5 separate regions of the Homo sapiens genome follow, and regions 2, 3, 4 and 5 are each linked to region 1. The links are contacts of gene promoters, found by promoter capture Hi-C in blood cells and fetal thymus (Javierre and others, 2016). All regions are on one chromosome and are shown on one strand. Each heading gives the region's core, a stretch centred on a gene start or on the middle of the fragment in contact. The rest is flanking DNA. Distances are from core to core; before and after follow the strand shown.

Evidence for each region. Contacts are between HindIII fragments. The CHiCAGO score rates a contact against its expected background, and 5 or more counts as called.
Region 2: a contact is called between a fragment that was not itself captured here and the fragment with the promoter of RTKN in region 1, in 1 of 17 cell types (naive CD4 T cells). The highest score is 5.7, in naive CD4 T cells.
Region 3: a fragment that was not itself captured here is called in contact with the fragment with the promoter of RTKN in region 1 in 7 of 17 cell types (naive CD4 T cells, megakaryocytes, activated CD4 T cells and 4 more); the score reaches 6.7 in naive CD4 T cells.
Region 4: a contact is called between a fragment that was not itself captured here and the fragment with the promoter of RTKN in region 1, in 1 of 17 cell types (neutrophils). The highest score is 5.9, in neutrophils.
Region 5: a fragment that was not itself captured here is called in contact with the fragment with the promoter of RTKN in region 1 in 8 of 17 cell types (total B cells, naive B cells, naive CD4 T cells and 5 more); the score reaches 7.6 in total B cells.

The regions. Positions count from the first base shown.
Region 1 is chr2:74,440,627-74,443,264 of GRCh38, forward strand. It overlaps RTKN (rhotekin), which reads right to left and starts at 1,311. Exons shown (of 12, transcript NM_001015055.2): 1 at 1,080-1,311. The coding sequence starts at 1,190. RefSeq lists silencers at 1-236, 952-1,011, 1,322-1,401. The HindIII fragment of the contact is 8,784 bases long and covers 1-2,638 here.
Region 2 is chr2:74,223,000-74,225,637 of GRCh38, forward strand. It overlaps SLC4A5 (solute carrier family 4 member 5), which reads right to left. Exons shown (of 31, transcript NM_133478.3): 28 at 1,841-1,996. Among named protein-coding and RNA genes, the nearest start is that of MTHFD2, 26 kb to the left of the region's middle. The HindIII fragment of the contact is 4,313 bases long and covers 1-2,638 here.
Region 3 is chr2:74,245,809-74,248,446 of GRCh38, forward strand. It overlaps SLC4A5 (solute carrier family 4 member 5), which reads right to left. Exons shown (of 31, transcript NM_133478.3): 18 at 2,545-2,638; 19 at 1,228-1,499. Among named protein-coding and RNA genes, the nearest start is that of MTHFD2, 49 kb to the left of the region's middle. The HindIII fragment of the contact is 6,305 bases long and covers 1-2,638 here.
Region 4 is chr2:74,615,148-74,617,785 of GRCh38, forward strand. M1AP (meiosis 1 associated protein) reads right to left here. Exons shown (of 11, transcript NM_001321739.2): 3 at 1-2. Among named protein-coding and RNA genes, the nearest start is that of M1AP, 32 kb to the right of the region's middle. The HindIII fragment of the contact is 1,812 bases long and covers 392-2,203 here.
Region 5 is chr2:74,586,701-74,589,338 of GRCh38, forward strand. All of the region lies in intron 4 of M1AP (meiosis 1 associated protein), which reads right to left. Among named protein-coding and RNA genes, the nearest start is that of DOK1, 33 kb to the left of the region's middle. The HindIII fragment of the contact is 950 bases long and covers 817-1,766 here.

The DNA.
Region 1 (2,638 bases), core at 61-2,560:
CCTCCCCCTGGTCCCGGGCCTCGCCCCTTACTCCCCCACGCTGGCCCCACGCGGGTTCCTCGGGCCCAGTCGCTTGGGGGCAAGGGGACGCGACAAAGGCCCCCTCTCCCCAGGTCCACTAGCTTCTGAGTCAGAGAAGGCCCGGGACGCCGGGACAAGGGTGTGAAAGAGCCTCTTTGTTCTGGGCAGGCTGGAGGGAAAGGGCAGAAGCCAGGCCTGGAATCCCAGCCGGGAGGTAGAGGGGGCGGAAGGAAGGCCCACCTCACTTAACCCTTTCCAGACCCGGAAGGGAAGGCTTGGAACTGGGCTCTCCTTGGGCGAGTGTGAGTCTGACCTTGGGGACAGAAGAGTCTTCGGGGTAGCTATTCGCCCTCTCAGTCCCCGCTCAACCACACACCTTCAGCCCCGCCCTAGCCCTTAGGGCGTTACAGGTGGGGATCCAACAGGTTAACGCGTGGACGGCGGACGGGGGAAACGCTCAGCCTAGGGGCTGGACTCCTCTTAGGCCCCAGAAAAGGAGGCGGAAATTTTGCGTGTGGGAAGTAACCCCAAGGAGTTAAAAGCCCTGCAGGGGCATAGAGGAGCCTTTGAATTGGGCTTCGGGGAAGCGAGCGGCCCCGGCCTAAAGTCGGGGTTGATGACAGAGGCTGGCCCAGATGGCTGCGACAGGTTGTGGGATGGGGCTGGCGACTGGGGAACAAGCGGGAGCCCAGGCCAAGAGTCCGAGCGCTTGGGGCCCGCCTAGCTGCCCACCGCCCTTGGCCCGGGGATGCCCAAGACATTTTGGGGTTCAGGCACATTTTAGGAGTCGAGCTGGGGCCCTACAAATTGAGACCAACCCGGGCTTTTTCCAGGCTCAGGCAGATAATCCTAACCAGGCCGCGGAATGGGCAGCATGGATCCGATGAAAATGCAGACCGTCCACACCTTACTTTTTAAGTCAACAACTCCGTCGGGTTTGTACCCAGACCGTGCGTCTCCGCCCCTCGGCGTGCACGCGGGCGAGGGAAGGAGGCCGAGGTGGCTGGGGCTGCCCCCGGGAGCCGCGGAAGGGGAAGGCAGGGACGCGAGTCTCTCACCTCGGGCAGGTCGCTGAAGAGGCTGAGTCGGAAGCGGCCGCGTTTGAACTCCATCTCCAGGGCGGAGCCCCTGGCCACGGTGACCCGGCTCCGGTGGTTTCGGGAGAACATGCTGGCGGCCCTGCGACTTTGCCTGCTCAGTGCGCTCCCCGCGCCGCCCGGCTTAGCCTCCTCTCCTCGGCTTCTGTCTCTCGACGCTCGTCCGCCAGTCCGGCCGGGAATCTCCCGCTGCGGGGCTCCAAACCCCGCCCCCGGAGACGACACCTGGGCCGGGCAGGGCGCGGCAACCTCCTCTTCCACCCCCGCCAAAGGCCCAGCCCGTCCGGCCAGTCCCTGGGCGCCAAGCCGACCTGGCCCGACGGCCCCGGAGCCCCCAGGGGCGCACTGCACCTCGCGAGCACTGTGGGAGCGCGTTCTCCCTGCCCGCGCGGGTCGCGAGCGCCTACCTGGACTTGGGACGGACCGAGAAGCCCTGCCCCGCCAGCCGCCCCAACCTGGCAAGCCTGGCTTCCCGGGCGCTGAAAACCCCGTGGCTCAGGGATCGCCGCGTAGCACGCTCTGGCTCTACTCGGGCCCTGGGACCTTGCCCAGTTTCAATCCCGGCAGCCTCCGAAGAGACCATTTCAACATCCCACAGTCCCAAATGTTCCTTCTTCGTCCCCCTCCCCACCTAGGCTCCTCTGCGAGGCTATCCGCCTAAGCCTAGTGGCCACAACTGATGGGGCGGTGCTTAAACACGTCGTGAAACCCCAGCTCTGTCACTAACTAACCGTGCAATCATTAACTTGGTCCAGTCACTGGCCTTTCTGAGCTTCAGTTTTCTCATTTGTTCAGTGGGAATACTGTAATTATCTCCACTCCTCAAGTTGCTATGAGGATTACCTATAAGAATGAGGGTAAAATGCCCAGCATAGTGCCTGGCACAAGGCAAGTGCCCCATATTTGCAGTCATAAAGAGCAGCTGCGCGCGGTGGCTCACGCCTGTAATCGCAGCACTTTGGGAGGCCTAGGAGGGTGGATCACCTGAGGTTGGGAGTTCGAGACCAGCCTGACCAACATGGAGAAACCCCATCTCTACTAAAAATACAAAATTTAGCCGGCCATGGTGGCACATGCCGGTAATCCCAACTACTTGAGAGGCTGAGGCAGGAGAATCGCTTAAACCCGGGAAGCAGAGGTTGTGGTGAGCTGAGACCCCACCATTGCACTCCACCCTTGGAAACAAGAGCGAAACTACGTCTAAAAAAAAGATGGCTGGGTGCAGTGGCTCAAGCCTGTAATCCTAGCACTTTGGGAGGCCAAGGGGGACTGATCGCTCTTGAGCTCAGGAGTTGGAGACCAGCCTGGGCAACATGAAACCCTGTCTCAACAAAACACACACACACACGCACACACACACACAAATTGGCCTGGCATGGTGGTGCACACCTGTAGTCCCAGCTACTCGGGAGGCTAAGGTGGGAGGATTGCTTGAGCCCGAAAGTTCAAGTCCAGCCTGGGCAACATAGTGGGACCCCATCTCTTAAAAAGCATTACAAATATGTATAATTTTTTATTTT
Region 2 (2,638 bases), core at 69-2,568, 220 kb before region 1:
TGGCTTTCTTTTTTTTTTTTTTTGAGACAGAGTCTCGCTCTACTGCCCAGGCTGGAGTGCAGTGGTGCGATCTCGGCTCACTGTAACCTCTGCCTCCTGGGTTCAAGTGATTCTCCTGCCTCAGCCTCCCAAGTAGCTGGGATTACAGGCGTGCACCCCCATACCTGGCTAATTTTTTGTATTTTTAGTAGAGATGGGGTTTCACCATGCTGGCCAGGCTGGTCTTGAACTCCTGACCTTGTGATCCCCCCTGCCTCGGCCTCCCAAAGTGCTGGGATTACAGATGTGAGCCACCGCGCGTGGCCAACAACTTGGCTTTCTTGCCAAGATGGAAAATGCATGCATGAACATTGCAAACCACCATTCTGTTCACCTCTAAACAGTTAGGGGATGCTGCAAATACCCTGGGGTCCACTGAAGGGGAATGGGCACAGTTAGCCTGCTGTCCTATACACACCATCAGACAGACCGGAACTCTTCCAGGAATGTTACTCATCAAAACAGTTTTATCTGTCACAGCAACCAGTCACTTGGGAATGAACCTCACACAACAACTGTGTTGCTATAAGACAAGTAAAATGAATTTGTATAAATTGAATCCTGTTTTTCCATTGATATATCATAATTCAGAGATTCTTTTTCCCAACCCTGTAATAGTTCTTGGCATGTGGTAGCCACTCAGATATTTATTGAAAGTATCAACAAAAGAAGTATTTGTCTTTAAAAGGCACTTAGTCTCTGTTTCTTTGTTTTCAGAACCCACCTTTACAAATCATCTACAAACACATGCATTATGGGACTCTTCCTGGAAGAGCACAGTAATTAAGGACCAGGGGAGTTCTGACTGATCAGAAGATGGTTTAATCACCACCAGCCAGTCAGAAGGGATTTGCCTTGAACAGGTTTCATCTGCACAAGGCAAAATCACGAGAACAGGACAGGGTGGATGCAGGGACGTGAGTTTGGGTCAAATTGGGAGATTGGGAACCAAGCACAGCATTAGGAGATGGCACAGGCAGCTTAGCATATCAGAAACCAGCAAAGTCAGGAATTATTTTCTTAATTCCTTCTTAGAAATGTAGCTACATGTCCATTTTGGGTAAGTCACTTCCTTTTGTGGGGACAGTTTCATCATAAGTAATGAACACATGAATTAAGAATCTTTCTGCCTCATGTTTTGTGATTCACTATAATTTCTGGACTGGCCCCTTGTCTGTTGACTCCCTGAGTGTTTTGGGGATGAAATGGGAAGGGACCATGGGAGAAGAGGGGCAGATGGGGCAACCATGTTGTCCCAGACATCTGGGAAATGTAGCCAGTCTCCTTTTGGCGAGGATACCTGCCTCTTTCCCCATCTTTGTCCTCAATACCCTAGGCAAAGGCGCAAGCAAAACTTGTTCCCAGCCCCTCCTGCCTGTCTGGAGTCCAGTCTACTTATAAGGCCCCATTAGACACCTCTCCCCAAGTCTGCTCCACTCTTTGGAGGTCAGTCTTCATAACCTCCTTCCATGCTGGAGCTGCCTCCTGGCCCTTCCCACAGGAACCCGCTTGCTGTGATCACGGCCGTAAAGCCCACAGTGATGGAAAGAGTGGGCATGGCCAGTCACCTTTTCCCTGGACAGGGAGTCTCATTCACTCTGGCCCACCCTGAGGATATTCACATAAACAGAAGAGCCCTCAACACCCCAGACCAAGACAAGCAGATGCCCCAGCCCATCCTGGACTGGGCCGAGGCACTGCTGCAGGCCACCCAAGAAGCCGCCCTCTCCCTGTCCCTGGCAAAAGTGGAGAGAAGGTCTCTCAATTTCTCCTCTGTGCCCCGGCCTCACATCTTCCCCACCTCCTCATCACAGTCCTCGTGGGCCCCTTTTTTTCTCTTCCTCTTCTTGTCTGTCTCCTTTTTTTCCTTCTCTGGGAGGATGTTGTCAATCCAGGCCAGGTCGTGCTGGGAAAAGATGAAATCCAGAAGCCTTCGAACGATGATGAGGCCCAGGATCTGTGGTGGAGAGAGACTAAAGTTTTGTGAGAATTTGGAGAAAACTGTGGTCTCAATGCCCAAACTCAGGCATAGATTTTTTTCTCCCTCAGTCGGCTGAGTTCAGGGACTTTTTGTGGTGTCTTTGGAGCCGTCTCGAAGCTCCCATAAGCCATTATTCACTTTCCCTCCACCGTAGTTCCTCTTGTCTGGCCCCTCAGGTGAGTGACCATGCCTACCAGTGACCAAGAGGGACGGAGCCTGTGACAGCCGAAGTGGGGAGCCTCAGAAAGGCCATGGGCTGGAGAACTACAGTTATTCTTTAAATTAGTGGTTCTCAGCCAGGCGTGGTGGCTCACACCTGTAATCCCAGCACTTTGGGAGGCCGAGGTGGGCAGATCGCCTGAGGTCAGGAGTTTAAGACCAGCCTGGCCAACATGGTGAAACCCTGTCCCTACTAAAAGTACAAAAGTTAGCCAGGCATGGTGGTGGGTGCCTGTAGTCCCAGCTGCTCAGGAGACTGAGGCAGAAGAATCGCTAGAAACCGGGAGGCGGAGGTTGCAGTGAGCCAAGATTGTGCCACTGCATTCCATCCTGGGCGACAGAGCAAGACTCCATCTCAAACAAATAAAATAAATACATAAATTAGTGGCTCTCAAACTT
Region 3 (2,638 bases), core at 65-2,564, 190 kb before region 1:
TTACCCGTAGTAATGTATTAAGGGGCTGAACCCACTATCCACTTATTTCCTTCAACTCAATCGGGGTATAGATTTGGAAACCCCACAGGAGTCCCAGGAGACCACCAGGGCCCGCATTGAGACCCCTCTTTTACAGCCAGGGAAACTGAGGCTTGGCATGACCTTGGGTGGTCTCTGGACCTCAGTTTGCTCTCTGTGAGTCCAGCCTTGGTGCTTGGAGATGTGTGCATAGACCTCCTGCTCCTGCTCTGCAGCACCCTGGGCACTCTGGGCACATCCCACTGAAAGCTCTTAGGGGCATGATCATGACTATGGAGGAGGCTCAGATGCTATGGGAAGCCCTAATTTACAGATGACAGGTGTTTTGGCCAGAAAGTAACTCCACAGGAGTGGCACTGGGTGTTACCAGGTTGACCCCATCTGTACAGGGATCCTTTTTACAATATCCTTGGCAGATGGACATCCAGAGAGTGTCCAAGTAACTTGCTACCAACCAAGGGGGCCGAGAACTCCCATGGTGGTTAACGCCCACCATTGTAGGTTCTTTCCTAAATTCAGCCAGCATCTGGCTTCCTGGAGCTTCTGCTCCCTGTTCCTCATTCAGCTCTACATCCTGTGGTTTCAGAGGGTGAACACAGCTCCTTTGTGACATGACAGTCCTTCTCTCATAACTCTCATATTCATAAGAGGCTGAATAAGCCCCGGTTCTCCAACTGTTCTCAGATGGCATGGATGACAGAGCCTCCACTCTGGACATGTTTCCATCTGTGTGGATGTCCATCCCTCAGGTGTGGTCTCACCTTACACGGTATGTGGCCACACGGGCAGCTCTGTCTTGGGGAGAGCTCATCGTATCATGACTTGATGGAGCTGGGCGGGACTTCAGGCACCATCAGTTCTATCTCTGGCCTGCAGCAGGAACCCCTGAGTGGCACTCCTGATAGGTGTGGCCTCCACATTACCCCACACTGAGGCAAAGCATGCCTTACTCCTTCCTAGGATATCCCTGTGCCCTCCTGATGACAACCCTGTGACTCTTATTAGAGCTACTGTCCCCTTGGTTTCCTTCCAAACACTGGGTTCAAGACCCTGTATTTGCTCTCTTGGAACTGTAAGCCCTTGGCTGAATGGCCCCTCCCCAGCAGTAGAAGTAGAGAGCTGTGGTGAAGGATCAGGGGGCCGGTGGGGTAGGTGAGGGCCCACGGCATGTCTGGGGTTACCGGTCACCTGTGTCAGGGGCGACACACTCGCACTTGTAGGTAGTGATGAAGTTTGGCTTGAAGTCCATATTGATAGGGTAGTACTTGAAGGCACCGATCATCTTCTTGATGGCATCGTAGATGAAGATGAAGCTGATAAGGGTGGAGAAGCCCTCCTCGGTGAAGCGGGTGATATATTTGATGATAAAGCTGGCATCTGTGGCCACTAGGATAAGGCACTGGACAGCTGAGTGTAGGCCAATCCAGAGGCGGAACTCCATGTAGTCCAGGCCATTGCCTCTGGAAGGCAGAGGGGAGGTGAGGGGCCTCCAGCCCAGGGCTCCTGGCTGTGCTTGACTCCTCAGACTCATCCTTAAGTGGCTTATCTGTCCTCCTGTGGCACTGATGCCCTCCCAGGGACTGTGAAAGACTGGGGACAGGGACAATTCTTGGGCAGAGTTGTCTGATCTTTGAGATTTCATGGGGGTCCAGTGTTCATCTTTATAAGAACTTTTTTTTTTTTTTGAGAAAGAGTCTCTCTCTGTCACCCAGTCTGGACTGCAATGGCGTGATCTTGGCTCACTGCAACCTCTGCCTCCCTGGTTCAAGTGATTCTCCTGCCTCAGCCTCCTAAGTAGCTGGGATTACAGGCACCCGCCGCCACGCCTGGCTGATTTTTGTATTTTTAGTAGAGACGGGGTTTTACCATGTTGGCCAGGCTGGTCTCAAATTCCTGACCTCAGGTGATCCGCCCGCCCCAGCCTCCCAAAGTGCTGGGATTGCAGGTGTGAGCCACCACGCCCGGCCAAAAAAAAATTTTTTTTAAAGATCTTATGGAGGAGGCAGGAAGGTGCCAAGACATCTCAGTGCTCACAGTTGGTAACAGACACCAGAGTGAGTGAAAAACAGGGAATTTTGGAAGAACAGGGTTGGAGCAGCCCTTGGAAATGGTCTGGTCCAAACCCTCATGTTGTAGAGGAGGCAACTGAGCCTGGAGTAGTGATGGGAGCTGCCTGGGTCTGGGTGTAACCTTCTGACCTTCAGCCCAAGACTTCATACACTATACTGCCTATCAAGTCACCATTGCTCACAAACTGAGTGGTGTGAATTTTCTCCTCTTGTCGTGGCTGGTCCCTATGGGCTGTGCCAATATGCACTAAGATGTCTTAAAGGCAGGTAGCTGGCAGGAGTCAGGAGGGGCCACCTGGTAGCCCTTCCCATAGTTAAAGATGGCTTTGGCACCACCGCACCACCACCTACCCTTGGGACCTATTCCCCTGCCCTAGCCCCAGCATACTGCCCCAAATGCGAGAGCAGGCACTGGGGGCCACCAAGGGACACCTACTTGCTGAAGTCGAAGAGGAGCTTCTCAAAGATGAGGATGGGCCCCGTGCTGCTGAGAATGATGAGAGGCTGTCCCGAGAAGAGGCAGAACAAGG
Region 4 (2,638 bases), core at 48-2,547, 170 kb after region 1:
TGCTGCAGAGAAAAACGAATCAAAGACACAAGTCTTTAGGGACCAGGTTTCAGATTAATTGGCAGTCTAAATTTATTATAAATAATTCCTCAGAAGTTCCTTCCCTTCCTGAAAATTTATTTGACCAACATCTACTGAATTCCTATTGTGTTCTAGCCACTGCACCAAAATCTTCCCTACACTAGCAGAAGGAAAATTTGCAGCCATAAAGGTTTTGATTACTTAGAGTTACCAGAAACATGAAAGGAAGTGTTTTAACTCATTCACTCACACAAAGGGAAATCCAGTTGTGTGACTGCTTAGTTTTACTTTGGGGTGACCTGCAAACTGGAGGCCAGACAGTGTTCACCTTAGACATCATCTTCATTTCTTAGTCAGTCTAGGCACCAAAAGCTTCTCTACTTAAAAATGAGGTTTTCCCAGAAGTGAGAATTTTGATGTGGTTGATCACTTCAGAATTCATACGTCCTATCTAATACGCTCTTTAGGATAACTTCAGTAAAGAAGAGATATTTGGGTTAGTCTGCAGTCAGCTTAAGGAGCCAACATGTTAAACCGAGACAAGCGACCTTTTGGTTCTCCTCATCTACCTTTATAAAAACTTGCTCTTAGGAGTCAACTAATTTAATCTGATACTAGGTCAATGTTACTTCTCCTAAGGATATATGCATTTTGATAAATGTGGACTGAAGATTTGTGACATCATTTGAAGGGATTCCATGCATCAATAGCAGGTGGGGGGTGGGGAAGAATTATATTTTGGGATGGGGACACCTTCCTGACCATAGAGCAGAACTGAGTGATATCTGTAATGCACATAAAATCCATGAGCATGAGCTGTAAACCTGCCAGAATACAAAGACTGCTTAAGTCAACACCTTCCTGGGCTTAGCTCCACAGTTGATATATTCTTCTCTCCCCAAGTCTTTGGGGTGAAAACACAAGGAATTGCATATAATTCTTACACAAAGAAAACTTGTAATCTAGAAAGGAAAATAAGAAAACTATCCGAGAAAGAAATTAGAAGAAATCACACCACAGGTGTAGCCTAGTAGGCTTTAAGCATTTCTTCTCATGTACCCACTAAAAGAATCTGAGAAACAATGTACCCCCTTATGCATTTTTAAGTGAACATCTATATTTTAAAATTCCAACTTTATAAGTGGTTGCTAACGATGTAACTTCCTGCATATTTTAAATATCAACATTTAAAAATAAAACTATAATATAACTCTTCAAAACAGTCCAATTGAATCTAAATGCCATGGTGATTTGATACTCACCATTATTCAGTGTTAAAAGTACATGAACAAGCTCTTTTTTTCCCAAGAGATAGAAATTTAGATTGTTCCTTTTTCTCCTTGAACTCATATTTCCATTTCACTTTCCCTGAGAGTTTTATCATAATGTAAAAGAATTTTTATGCTTGGCAACCTTTTATTGATCATCCCATCATACTTCTCTGCATCTAAAACAGCTATATTTTGCAAGAGTTCTAAGTTTCCTATGAGCATAGGCTCTAAGGGGCACTCTAGATTGAGTTATTATTAGAATTATCATTCATATACAATTTATTAAAACAACATGTATATACAAATTTTGAGAAATAATTATTGGCATTAAGCATAGCTTTAATTGGAAATGTTTCTCTTAATAATTGGAAATATTCCTCTTAATGGCATGGACAAGCTGGGCTCTTCTTTCAATTAGCTCAGGTTTGTGTGAATAAATAAAATAATTACTGATCGAATGACACAACATTCAGTATCAATTTTTATTCCTATTTTATTTATTTGGTGGCCAACATGGGTTGAGTTTATTGCATCATTATAAACAGAGAAAAATCTTGTTTTCTCTTGACCAGATACCCAAAAGGCTATAAAAGAAATGTAACTTAACTCCAATTTGAGAATATGTACTAAAAATTTTAAGCCTCACCTTGGTATTTTAAAAGACTAAATGTGATACCCTACAAGGCATTTTGATGTCACAAATTCATTCTATTACATTTTATATACAAAAATGCTACACCATTGTTCTAATTATGTGTCTGCAGTTGTACTACAACTATAGGACAGACACAGAATGATTCAAAATAGCTGGAATCTAAGCCTTACTTCTCAGTGATCAGGGCAGTCCAGCCTGGTGATGTCATATAGGGTGTCATTAGATGACACCCAGAACCAGCCACAACTTCGGACTAAGCTTGTTTGTGTCTACAATTGTGATGACATATTACTATGGATTTAACAATAAAAATTCCAAGCTAACGCAGGAACAGAAAACCAAATACTGCATGTTCTGACTTATAAGTGCGAGCTAAATGATGAGAACACATGGACACATAAAAAGGGACAACACACACTGGGGCCTGTCAGAGGGTGGAGTGTGGGAGGAGGGAGAGGATCAGAAAAAATAACTAATGGGTAGTAGGCTTAATACCTGGATGATGAAATAATCTGTACAACAAACCCCCATGACACAAGTTTACTTATGTACCTGCACATGCACCCTTGAACTTAAAATAAAAGTTAAAAAAATTCATACCATTTGTTTTAAGAGTGTCTGGGAAAAAATAAGCAATTATTCCATTTTGTGCCCTTCTCATGTTTTAAAATAAGCAATGTTCTATATTTCT
Region 5 (2,638 bases), core at 42-2,541, 150 kb after region 1:
GAATTAAAAGTTGTTAGCAGCCGGGCACGGTGGCTCACGCCTGTAATCCCAGCACTTTGGGAGGCTGAGGCGGGCAGATCACCTAAAGTCGGGAGTTTGAGACCAGCCTGACCAACATGGAGAAACCCGGTCTCCACTAAAAATACAAAAAATTAGCCAGGTGTGGTGGTGCATGCCTGTAATCCCAGCTACTTGGGAGGCTGAGGCAGGAGAATCGCTTGAACCTGGGAGGTGGAGGTTGCAGTGAACTGAGATCGCGCCATTGCACACTAGCCTGGGCAACAAGAGCGAAACTCCATTTCAAAAAAAAAAAAAAAATTTGTTAGCTATGTGATTTTGGGCGAAGTGGAATAGTACAACATATTTCTTAGTAAAGCACTACAAAGCGAGATGATTATCTATAAATGGCATCCAGTAGGTCCAACAAATATAATTTTCTTCCTTTTCTCTCATCCACAAAATGAACTCTTTTAGGATAATAATATATTTTCCTTTTTTTTTTTTCTTTTTTCTTTTGAGACGGAGTCTCGCTCTGTCCCCCAGGCTGGAGTGCAGTGGCGCGATCTCGGCTCACTGCAAGCTCCACCTCCCGGGTTCACGCCATTCTCCTGCCTCAGCCTCCCGAGTAGCTGGGACTACAGGCGCCTGCTGCCATGCTTTGCTAATTTTTTGTATTTTTAGTAGAGATGGGGCTTCACCGTGTTAGCCAGGATGGTCTCGATCTCCTGACCTCGTGATCCACCTGCCTTGGCCTCCCAGAGTGCTGGGATTACAGGTGTGAGCTACCACGCCTGGCCATATGTTTTCCTTTTTTAAAGCTTTTTTTCCCTTGGTCACTGCTTTCTACCCCCGACTACCATACATTGAACACCAACAACTAGTATGTATTGTGTTCTTCACAAATACGACTAAATGTGCTAAATCTGGGGATCGGGGAGGAGACTTCTCAGACGTTGAAAAACAGCTCCCTCACTGGCTGGGGAGCAGGGTACCCATGCACTAGATGAACGGGTCACACCAATGGCATGAAATGGAAAGGTTACAGGAGTGAAACGGTGGCCCTTAGTGTTTGGATAGTTAAAGCAGTGAGGAAGGCCTGGTTCACTGCAGCCCAAGCTGCAGCCAGCATTCACATTGTTTTTGAACTTACCCTGCCCTCCTGCGGCCACAATGGGAAAAAACTAAGAAAGCCAAATGACTGAAGATTAGGTAATACCTGAAGTAGACCCTCTCAGAAGAAACCTTAAAATAGGGTTATAAAATTAAAGTGTGTTTAAAATAGGAGACTTTAACATACATACGTGCATATACAATGTCTGTATTTCTCTCTTCACATAAAATATAGAGGCCCAGGAAAGTAGAGGCCCAGGAAAAGGTGCTCTTGCCCAGTCCTCCACATCTTCCCCCGTCTCACAGGGCCCTAACCTCTAGGCCTGACCTGTTCCTTTCCGAATGACATTCATGAGGCCTGTACTTGGGTGTCATGGATGGGCTTCAGACATTCTGAGAACCCCTTGAAATTATATACAATTCATCTGTACATGCATAGATGTATTTTGGTGGGGTGGGGGAAGGGGGAAAGCCCCTAGCTTTTATCAGATTCTCAAAAGAGCTCTATGACCCCAAAAAGGTCAAGAACCACTACAGAGACTATAGAGTCACAGTATCTTAGCCTGCCTGGGTTGGTTTACAATTAGCTGTCTACTCTCTGAATACAGGATAGCTATAGGATGTTAACAACCAGGGTAAGTAATCACAGCAGATAAAGCTTAGTCAGGAACAGCAGTGCAGCATCATCCAACCATTGTCTTTAAATCAACACAACATGAGAATAATCTAACAGCTTACAACGGTGAGGCAGTCAAGCTTGTCTTTCTAAGCTCATTTGCCTCATTTGTGGAAGTGATGCTTGGACCCTAGGAAAAAGGAGAAGCCCCTTGAAAAGAGTTGGCAGGGGTGGTGGTAGTGGTTATCAACATGTGAACTCAGGGCAGAGAGGTGACTGCAGGAATGGACCTAGTGGTGACTATCTTCCTGGAGCCCCAGTCTGTAAGAGGGTCAAAACATCACCATAACTGTAATGAGATAGAGAAAATTTATATCCCAGAACTCTTCTCAGAGAGAGAGAACTGTTGTCATTCATTCATTTGCTTAGTCATTCATTTATTTAGTCATTCAAGCACTTATTAGTTTACTGTCTTTTATGAGCTAGGCACTTATTGGTGTCATCAAGAAAAGAGACAAATTGCCTACTTTCGTGGCTTACATTCTAGTGAGAGAACAGATAATAAGCAAGCAAATAAAACAGAATACAATTTCAGATGATAGATACTATGAAGAAAAATAAAGGGGCGTGTGTGTGTGCACGCGCGCGCGTGCATGCATGTGAAGTTTTAGCTTGGCTGGCCAGGGAAGTATTCTTTAAGAAGCTGACAGTTGGGCAGAAACTTGAATGACGTGAAGTGAGTCATAAAAACATTTGTGCGAAGATTGTTTCTTATAGAGAGATGAGCAAGTTCAAAGGTCTTGAGATGGGAATGAGCTTTTTGTGTTGGGGGATTAGCCAGAAGACTAAAGCAGAATAAGGAAGGAAGTGAGGACTAGCTAATAAGCTGCTGGGGTGAAGGACAAGACCCCC